2 separate regions of the Homo sapiens genome follow, and region 1 is linked to region 2. Evidence: promoter capture Hi-C in 16 types of primary human blood cells and fetal thymus (Javierre and others, 2016). All regions are on one chromosome and are shown on one strand. Each heading gives the region's core, a stretch centred on a gene start or on the middle of the fragment in contact. The rest is flanking DNA. Distances are from core to core; before and after follow the strand shown. Region 1 holds the start of TOP1MT (DNA topoisomerase I mitochondrial). Region 2 holds the start of LY6D (lymphocyte antigen 6 family member D).

Region 1 (4,164 bases), core at 252-2,751, 550 kb after region 2:
TCACATGTCCTCCAGGAAAGCGCCTGGGACCACCAACGGCCACCAGGGCCACTGGATCCATGCGGCTTGTGCCTGGTGATGTAGATATGACAGTGAGCGCCCGCCGCCATGCAGAATCGGTCCTGGAGACAACCCGGGAACCGACTCCAGGAAAGAGCGGGTCTCAGAAGACCATGCACAGCAACATAAGCTTTTTATAAAGTACCTAACCAAACCCTACAGTGTTGAGGCCCAGGCACAGCTACACAAATGATGAAACCACAAGCGGAAAAAAAGAGGGGAGATTTCCCCAAATAGGGTTGGTGGGGTGGTGCCTGGGGAAGCAAGGGCGACGTCATGGGGGGGCCTGTACACCCCGGGCAGGAGGCGGGCCGGTCACACCGCGGCACGCATGCTCTCCTGGCCCGACTTTTGGGAAAACCGGAAGCAGGGCAAGGCCGTCCCACGAGGCCTGCCACTCCCCTTTCTGGACCTACCCAAGCCCGGTGCTCAGGGCCCTCGCCGCCTGCTCACTGGGACACCTTACCTGGCTCCACTGCCCTTCTGCGTCCTGCGCGAGCCCGGGACACCCCGGGAGGCCGGGCGGCGGGGGACCTCCCCGAGCAGCGTCAGAGCCGCCCGGAGCCGCAGCAGCCGCACCACGCGCATCTGCCAGCCTCCGGGAAAGAGCGACAAGCTGGGCCCCGCCCCAGCGGCCAGCCCCGCCCCGCCCCCAGCGGCCAGCCCCGCCCCCGAGCGCGGCCTCCGCCCCCAGCGGCGCTCATCCCAAGGCTGGGCGGTCTAAGCCTGCACGGGGCTGCGGCAGCAGGACCACTGACTGTCCTGCCGGCCTCCCCCTGGTTTCCCTGCCTTCGTGGTCCAGCGCCCCTTCACGCTGGGCGGGGACCCAGATCCAAACCCAGTCCCACTGACCTCTGCAGCACAGGGCTGGCTGTCAGGATGCCCCACAGGTCACACGACCAGGCCAGTGAACTCCTGCCCAGGGCTTGCACACAGCTCTCTCCCAGAGCCTCTGAGGGCAGGGGCACCTAGCAGGTCCTTCCTAAGTACACGCTCTGCTGCTCTGGAGAAGGGACCACACAGGCTCAGATGGCCCCCTACCTCATCCCCTACAAACAGCAGCACTTCCAGGACGCAGAAACCGGCAGAAGCACCTGCTGTCCAGCCCACAGCAGCCCCTCAGAGGTGGTGCCTCTGGACAAAGGTCACAGGAAGTCCTGCGAAATCATCCCTGCCAACCAGCCTCTCACTCCCAAGGAGACCAGAGACCAGGCACAGCTGGAGCCTCCTTCCTGCGCTCAGTCCCCAGCGTGACTGCTGACCCTGACCAGGGTTTAACCCCAGTGTCTTCACTGGGGAGCATGGCCAAGGGGCAAAACCTCTAGATCAGCACTTGGCGGTAGGCCCTGAGCCACAACAGGCCACACCGCTCACCTCTGGCAGCACCGCAGCCTTGGTCTTCCCCGGTAAAACCCTGACACCAGGACCGTGGGAAGCAGATGAATTCACATGCATTCCGCACTTTCACTGTGACCGTTGGGGGGAATGCAGTGGACACAGGCAGGAAAGGAGTCCGGGCTGCCACCGCACGCCCTCAGCGACCCTCCCCTGCCACCAACTGACTCAGTGTCCATGTCATCTAGCTGCTGGAAGCCATGGGCAGAGGCCGAGGGCTGCAATTGCTCGCTCTTAGGGCCCAGGCAGACCTGGTAGGTGTCCCATCATTTCAGAATGAGCAGCTCAGCAGCTGAAGGTACACACACACCAGGACACAGCAGCTGACTCTCCAGGTGGGCCACCTCCTCCCAGGGGCTGCGGAACAGTGATGCATATTTTTTCAGGTAACCCTTTCTACAAACCAGAAGAGGGCCTTGGCCCAGGCCCACCATTCCTTCAACGGAATCCTGAGGTCAATGTGTTTTCCAGTTCAGGTTTCTAAGGGTTTTTGATTTTTTGTTTTTTACTTTTTGTAGAGATGGGGTCTCCCTATGTTGCCCCGGCTGGTCTCGAACTCCTGGGCTCAAGTACCTTGGCCTCCCAAAGTGCTGGGATTTCAGGTGTGAGCCGATGCCCAGTTGGTTCCTCAGGTTTTGTAAGAGGGAGTGTGGCAGGACAAAAACCCTAAGATTTCTCAATAGATGCAGAAAAAGCAGCAGACAAATCCAGCACCATTTCATGATAAACAGAATGGAAAACCCACTCAAGAACAGAATAGAAAGAAACTTAACCTGAAAAGCAGCATCTACAAAACCCCGCAGCTAACCTCATATGCCAGAAGAAAGACTGGACGCTCCTGCTGAAATGAAGAATAAGACGAGGATGTCCACTCTCACCACTGCCTCTCAACATGGTACCAGAGGCTCTAACTGAGCAAACAGGCAAGCAGATGAAATAAGACACCCAGATCAGAAAGAAAGAAGTAAATTATGTCTATTTGCAGGTGGCATAATCTTGTATATAGAAAATCCCAAAGAATCCACAAAAATTGGCCGAGCACCGTAGCTCATGCCTGTAATCCAAGCACTTTGGGAGGTCAAAGCAAGTGGATCACTTGAGCCAAGGAGTTCAAGACCAGCCTGGGCAACATAGTGAGACCCTATCTCTATGGAAAATAAAATTTAAAAAAGAATCCACAAAAACTAGTAGAGCTAATAGATGAATTCAGCACAATTGTAGGGTACAAGATCAATATGCAAACATCAGTTGTATTTCTAACCAGTAGCCATACGCAAACTGAAAATGAAATTAAGAAAATAATTTATTATAGCATGAAAAAATAAAATACTGCACAATAAATTTAACAAAGGAAGTATCAAGCTTATACTCTGAAAACTGTAAAACATTGCCCAAAGAAATTAAAGACAGCCTAAATAAATGAGCAGCCATCCCATGTTCACGGACTGGATGATTTCATATGGTTAAGACAGCATTGGCCAGGTGCAGTGGCTCACGCCTGTAATCCCAGCACTTTGGGAGGCCGAGACGGGCGGATCACGAGGTCAGATCGAGACCATCCTGGCTAAAACGTCTCTACTAAAAAAATTAGCCTGGCATGATAGCAGGCGCCTGTAGTCCCAGCTATTTGGGAGGCTGAGGCAGGAGAATGGCGTGAACCCAGGAGGCAGAGCTTGCAGTGAGCCGAGATCACGCTACTACACTCCAGCGTGGGCAACAGAGCAAGACTCCGTCTCAAAAAAAAAGACGGCAATACTCCCCAAACTGATCCAAAAACTCAATACAATCCCCATCTAAATTCCAGCTGGCGTTTTTACAGAAATTGACAACCTGATCCTAAAATTCACAGGGAAATACAAGGGACCCAGAATAGCCAAAACAATGTTTGAAAAAGAATAACAAAGTTGGAGGATTCATACTTGCTGATTTCAAAACTTCAAAACTGGCCCAGGGAACACAGCAAGACCCCATCTGTACTAAAGATTTTTAAATTAGCCAGGCATGATGGTGTACACCTGTAGTAAGGGAGGAGACCACCTCTCATATTGTCTTCTGCCTAATTTCTGCCTCAAAGAAAAGAAAAAGTAGGAGTTAAAGAAAAGGCAGAAGTGAAATTCAATAGTCAAACAGCCCGGCGCCACACCCCAGGCCTGGTAGTTAAAGATCGGCCCGGACCTAATCGCTTCTGTTATCTACAGATTCCAGACTTCTTATGAGGAAGCATTGCGTAACTCCCTGTTTGGTTCTGTTCTGATCACCGGTGCATGCGGCCCCAGTTACGTAGCCCCCACTTGCACAATGTATCACGGCCCTTTCACATGGACCCCTTAGAGTTGTAAGCCCTTAAAAGGGACAGGAATCTGGACCTCGGGGAGCCCGGATCTTGAGAGGCGATTCTACTGATGCTCCCAGCTGATTAAAACCTCTTATTCCCTAAAACCGGTGTCCGAGAGGTTTTGTCTGCAACGTGTCCTGCTACAGTAGTCCTAGCTACTCAGGGGGCTGAGTGGGAGGATTGCTTGAACCCAGGAGTTCAAGACTGCAGTGAGCTATGATCAGGCTACTGCACTCCAGCCTGAACAACAGGCTCCATCTCTTAAAAAAAAATTTTTTTTTTGGCTGGGCTTGGTGGCTCACGCCTGTAATCTCAGCACTTTGGGAGGCCAAGGCGGGCGGATCACCTGAGGTCGGGAGTTCAGGACCAGCCTG
Region 2 (4,452 bases), core at 191-2,690:
AGACTTTCGGGGAAGCCCTCAGCCTGGGGCTCCTGGCACCCCCGTTGCGGCTGGGGAAGAGAGGTGTGGAATCCCCAGAGAAAGGGAAGGAAAGGCATGAGGGGCCTTCCCTGGGGGGAAGGTCACAGGCTGGGGGCTAAGATGACGGCCAGGAGGCTCAGGGCCAGCCCCAGGCTGAGGGCACTGTGGGCGAGGGCGGTGCGGGTGGGTGCAGCGTTGTGCAGCTTCTCATTGCACAGGTCCTCCTGGCAGCACTGGGTGGAGCTGGTGCCGCTGCTGACCTGGCCTTGCAGGGTGTAGCTGGGTGTGCACGACTCCGCACAGTCCTTCTTCACCAGATTCCCCCTCAGAGGCTCCACTGGGCACAGGTGAGTGTGGTCAGGCCAGGCAGCCACCTCTGCCCCCCACCTCCCCACAACCTTCCAGCCAACACCCACAACAGCCAGGGATGTCCCCCAGCCCCAGGGACACCTGGACAGATGCTACCCACCTGTGTTCGTGGTCTTGCAGAAGCGAGAGCTGGCCGGGCAGACCACAGAATGCTTGCAGTTGCTGGAGCTGGTGCACACGTGGCAGCGCAGGGTAAGGGCTGGCGGGGAGGGAGTCCGGCTCAGCGGGCCCAACAGAGGCCTCCTGGTGACTCAGCAGGGCCTGCTCCCCCACCTGCAGAGACCCCTCCTGGACAGAGGCCCTGCTGCCCTTGCCCTAGGCCCCCAAACCCGGGCTCTGGGTCCTGGCAGGGCATGTGCCCTGAGTGCAGCCTCAGGGGACATGTATTCCAGCCTGGGCCGGCTTGGAAGAGGTGTCCTGCCCTGCCCCTGTCTAGGGTGTGTTGCAAGCCTTTCCTCCAAGGTCTCAGGGAGCTCTGCGACTGCCAAGAGGACACTGGCTCTTGTCCCCACCCCAGGGGATGTCCCTGGAGGAGATGGCTATGTTTCTGAGGGCCTGACGGAGCTAAGGCCCCGGGGGCAGCCAGCTTGGCTGCTCTGAGCCTATGACAGGAAGGGCTTGGTGGCCTTTGGGCTGTCCTGGGCTGTGCTGGGGGAGACCTGGGGACCGGGAGGGGCTGGTGGCAGGGACTAGATGGCCGCTCTCCCAGTGAGAAGCATCTCAAGACAACCCCCTGCTCCACTCTCTCAGGGTCCGTGACTCCAGGAGTCAGTTCTAAGATCCTCAGATTCTGAAACATTGTAAATCTGACACTCGTTAAGATTCGGGCTCCATGTTGTTTTAAATTTGAAGAGTCTAGCACCCACAGTGTCGGGGTTCTCTGTGCCTAGATGTCGTCAGCTCCAGGCTCCTAGTATTTGGTGACCACACAGGCCACAGCCGCCCACCCGCCCGTCCCCTTGGCCCAGCCCCTCACCTGGCCCTGTAGCCACAGCCAGGGCTGCAAGGAGCAGCAATGCTGTCCTCATCTCTGATGTCGTCTGGGAGCAGTGCGGGCCCCTGCATTGCCAAGGCCTTATAGGCACGGGCTGGGCGGGGGTGGGCAGTCCGCCAGCCAGCGGCATTCTGCAGGGCTCTGTGCAAGCGTCAGCCCAGGACGGGCACCTGCCCCACCCTGCCTGGCCCACGCCCACCAGCCTGGCTGTCGCTGGGCGCTGCCCCTGCTGCCCCCCGCCAGGCAGAGGTCTGCCCTCCGCAACGGGGCCCAGTGGCCTCCTGGCCCTGCTGTTCCTGCTGCTGTGCCTCCATCTCTCCCACTTTCACTTCTCTGTCTCTGTGGGTCTTGTTCTCTCGCTGCCGTCCGTTCCTGGGTCACTTTGTCTCTGACCTGCCACCCGCTACCCCCCGCCCCCCACCCCCCACCATCCATCACCATCCTGTGTCTTTGTCCCTGCATTCCCCCCATAGTTCCCTCAATAGAGTTGCAGCCTGTGCCCGGTGCCCTGTGGGTGCCCGTGGGTGTCCAGGGCAGGGGAGGTAGGAAGGGCAGGTGCTGGTCCTACTCTCCTGGCTCTGGGCTCAGGGTTGCTGCCGGGGATGCAGAAGGTCCTTGAGCTGCAAGGGCTCGGGGTGGCTGTGGGCTGATGGGGTGTGTGAGGCAGAGGCAGAGGCAGAGGCCACTCCGAGGCAGGGAGGGCAGCTGGGGCAGCAGTGAGGTGAGCACTGGACAGAGTGAGGACTGTGAGGACCCGGCCCTCGAAGTTGCCTGGGGAGCCCTGTGGGCAGAAGGCCCGGGCTGTGGAGGCAGCAACTCCACCCTGCGTTGTGCAGGGAGAGACTGAGCCCTCCTGGTCTCCACCAGCCCTGCCTCCCGCCCTCCAGGGCCCCAGAAGCCCTCCCCGTGGGATTCCTTCCCCCACTCTCCAGGCCCCTCCTGCTACGTTGGGGGCAGCGCCATCCCGGCCACTTTGTAACTATTGCTCTAGGTGTCCCGGCTCCAGTCTCCCCAAAATCGTGAACTCTTTGGGGCTGGGCCCCAGCACCCAGGGCCTCAAAGCAGGTTCTTGGTCTGCTGCCCGTTGAGTGGAGGCCAGTCCCCGCCTTCACCCTCTTTATACTCACAGGAGGGACTTTCTTTCCCTGGAGACGGGGTCTCTGAGCACCCACCGCCTCGCGCAGGAGCCCACCTCTTGGGGCCCCCATCCACCTGCTCAGCCCAGCACGCTCTGCCGCTCGCCTGTGCTGGGCAGCACCCACCTGAGTGGTGTGGAGGGGCCCACAGACTTGCTTTGCCCCTGCCCTGGCTAGGCTGAAGGTGAGTGGGAGCCGGGGCACAGATGGAGGTCAGCCCTGGGCCCAGCCTCCTGCCGCCGCTGCCACGTGGCTGATGAACAGACAACAACAGGCCCAGGGCAGGGCAGGGCCGGTTCCGAGGAGGGTGGTCCTGGGCTGGGCTGAGGCTTTTGGGAGCACCGTGGGTACTGGGGCCAGTCAGGCCTGGGCTTGAGACAGACCCTCTGGCCCTTCCTCCCGGCATCTCTCCCTTGCTGAGCCCCACGTCTCAGATGCCGGGGATCCCAGCAAATGTCTCCTGAGAATGCTCCTGGCCGGGCTCTCCCTGACACAGTGCCGGGGCCTGGAGGATCCACCTACAGGAGGGGTTGCCTGGTGGTGCCTTTAGAAACCAGGGTGCAGGCGGGAGCCCCCTGGGGCAGCCCCACATTTGCATCTGGTGCCTGGCCCTGGCTGGAGCTTGGTGGGGACGTGTGTAGTCTCACTTGCCAAGGCAGGTGACCCAAAGGTCCATGCCCCCACCCAGAGAGAGGAGGTTTCCTCCAGCTCCAAGGCCCTGTGTCCATGGGTCACAGTGAGAGGCATGGGCAGCTTGGGGGAAGGTGCTTCCAGGGGCCTTGGGAGGCAGAGCTCAGGGCTTGGTGGCGGGGTGATGACTCGGTGGGCATGGCAGGTGGGGAGGGTGACTCACTGTGGCCAGGGGCATGAGAGCTGCTGGAAAAACAGGTTTGGAATTCCTGCTGGGTCTGGTGGAGCTGGAGGGTCCGGGATGTCAGGTGGCCTGAGAGTGGGTTCTGAGTGTGGGGCCATGGGGGAGTGTGCTCCCCACACCTGGGGCTGGAGGAGGGCCCTGCACACCTGGCTCACCCCCGTGGGACACCTCAGGCATCACTGTGGCTGCGTCCCTGCCAGGCATGGGAGCCGGAGCGGGGTTCCAGTTTTGTGGGATGAGGGCCTCTGACCTGGCAGGGCTGCCCACGAGGATGAGCTGCCCATCCCAGGTGGTCCTAGCAAAAGCATGAACAGCAGCCCTACACAGTTCACTTTCAGGAGAAAGCGGGTGCTTCTGATGCCAGGAGCCCTTGGACAGCTGAGCTTCTGGGGACAGTGCAGTCAGGGAGGGTTTCTTGTAGGCAGTGACCTGACTAGAGCCTCAGAGCCAGGGATTGGAATGTGGAGAGGAGACACTGTGGCCCCTCATGTCAGTCCCTGCCCAGTGCTTGTTCACTGGTGAGGAAGTGAGGGCCAGAGAGCTCCAGGCACGTTCTGGGGCAGAACCTGGTGGGGTCTCAAGCACTTCTCACTATCACCGCCAGCCTTTCCCCCCTCCTCCCTCCTCTGTTCTCTAGGGCCTGGGCCCTCCCCCACTCCACCCCTCCCACTCAGCCCCTGGAGCTGGGGCCCTGGGCCTGGTTGGTACCATCAGGGTATTGGCAGCAGAAATGACACCTGGGAGAGGCGACGAAGGGGCCTGGGGCAGGGAAAACCACCGCCCCACCCCGTTAGCCTTGCCCCCTGCTCCCTGAACCAGGAAACCCGGCACGGGGACAAGCCCAGGCTTCTGTCTGGAGCCGAAGTTCCTTGCTCATGCCCCTTCCCCCACCTTCTGCCCCCTCTACCTTATGCTGGGCCCCTAGGAACACACAAGGGTGTGGTGGCTCAGAGAGGGAAGCGCCTGGCTTAGGGCGGCACAGCACCGTACTCCAGGCTTGCACCAGCCCAGCCCTGGGCCCTGTCCTGGCTGAATGGGTGCCTGGTGGACAAGGCGGG

Evidence for each region. The method cuts DNA at HindIII sites, captures the fragments that hold promoters and counts their contacts. A CHiCAGO score of 5 or more calls a contact.
Region 1: a contact is called between a fragment that was not itself captured here and the fragment with the promoter of LY6D in region 2, in 1 of 17 cell types (non-activated CD4 T cells). The highest score is 5.0, in non-activated CD4 T cells.

Annotation. Positions count from the first base shown.
Region 1 is chr8:143,334,214-143,338,377 of GRCh38, forward strand. TOP1MT (DNA topoisomerase I mitochondrial) reads right to left here and starts at 667. Exons shown (of 14, transcript NM_052963.3): 1 at 527-667. The coding sequence starts at 648. RefSeq lists enhancers at 1-575, 115-164 and a silencer at 365-824. The HindIII fragment of the contact is 2,627 bases long and covers 189-2,815 here.
Region 2 is chr8:142,785,099-142,789,550 of GRCh38, forward strand. It overlaps LY6D (lymphocyte antigen 6 family member D), which reads right to left and starts at 1,441. Exons shown (of 3, transcript NM_003695.3): 1 at 1,367-1,441; 2 at 491-589; 3 at 1-358. The coding sequence starts at 1,418. The coding sequence ends at 123. The HindIII fragment of the contact is 15,715 bases long and covers 1-4,452 here.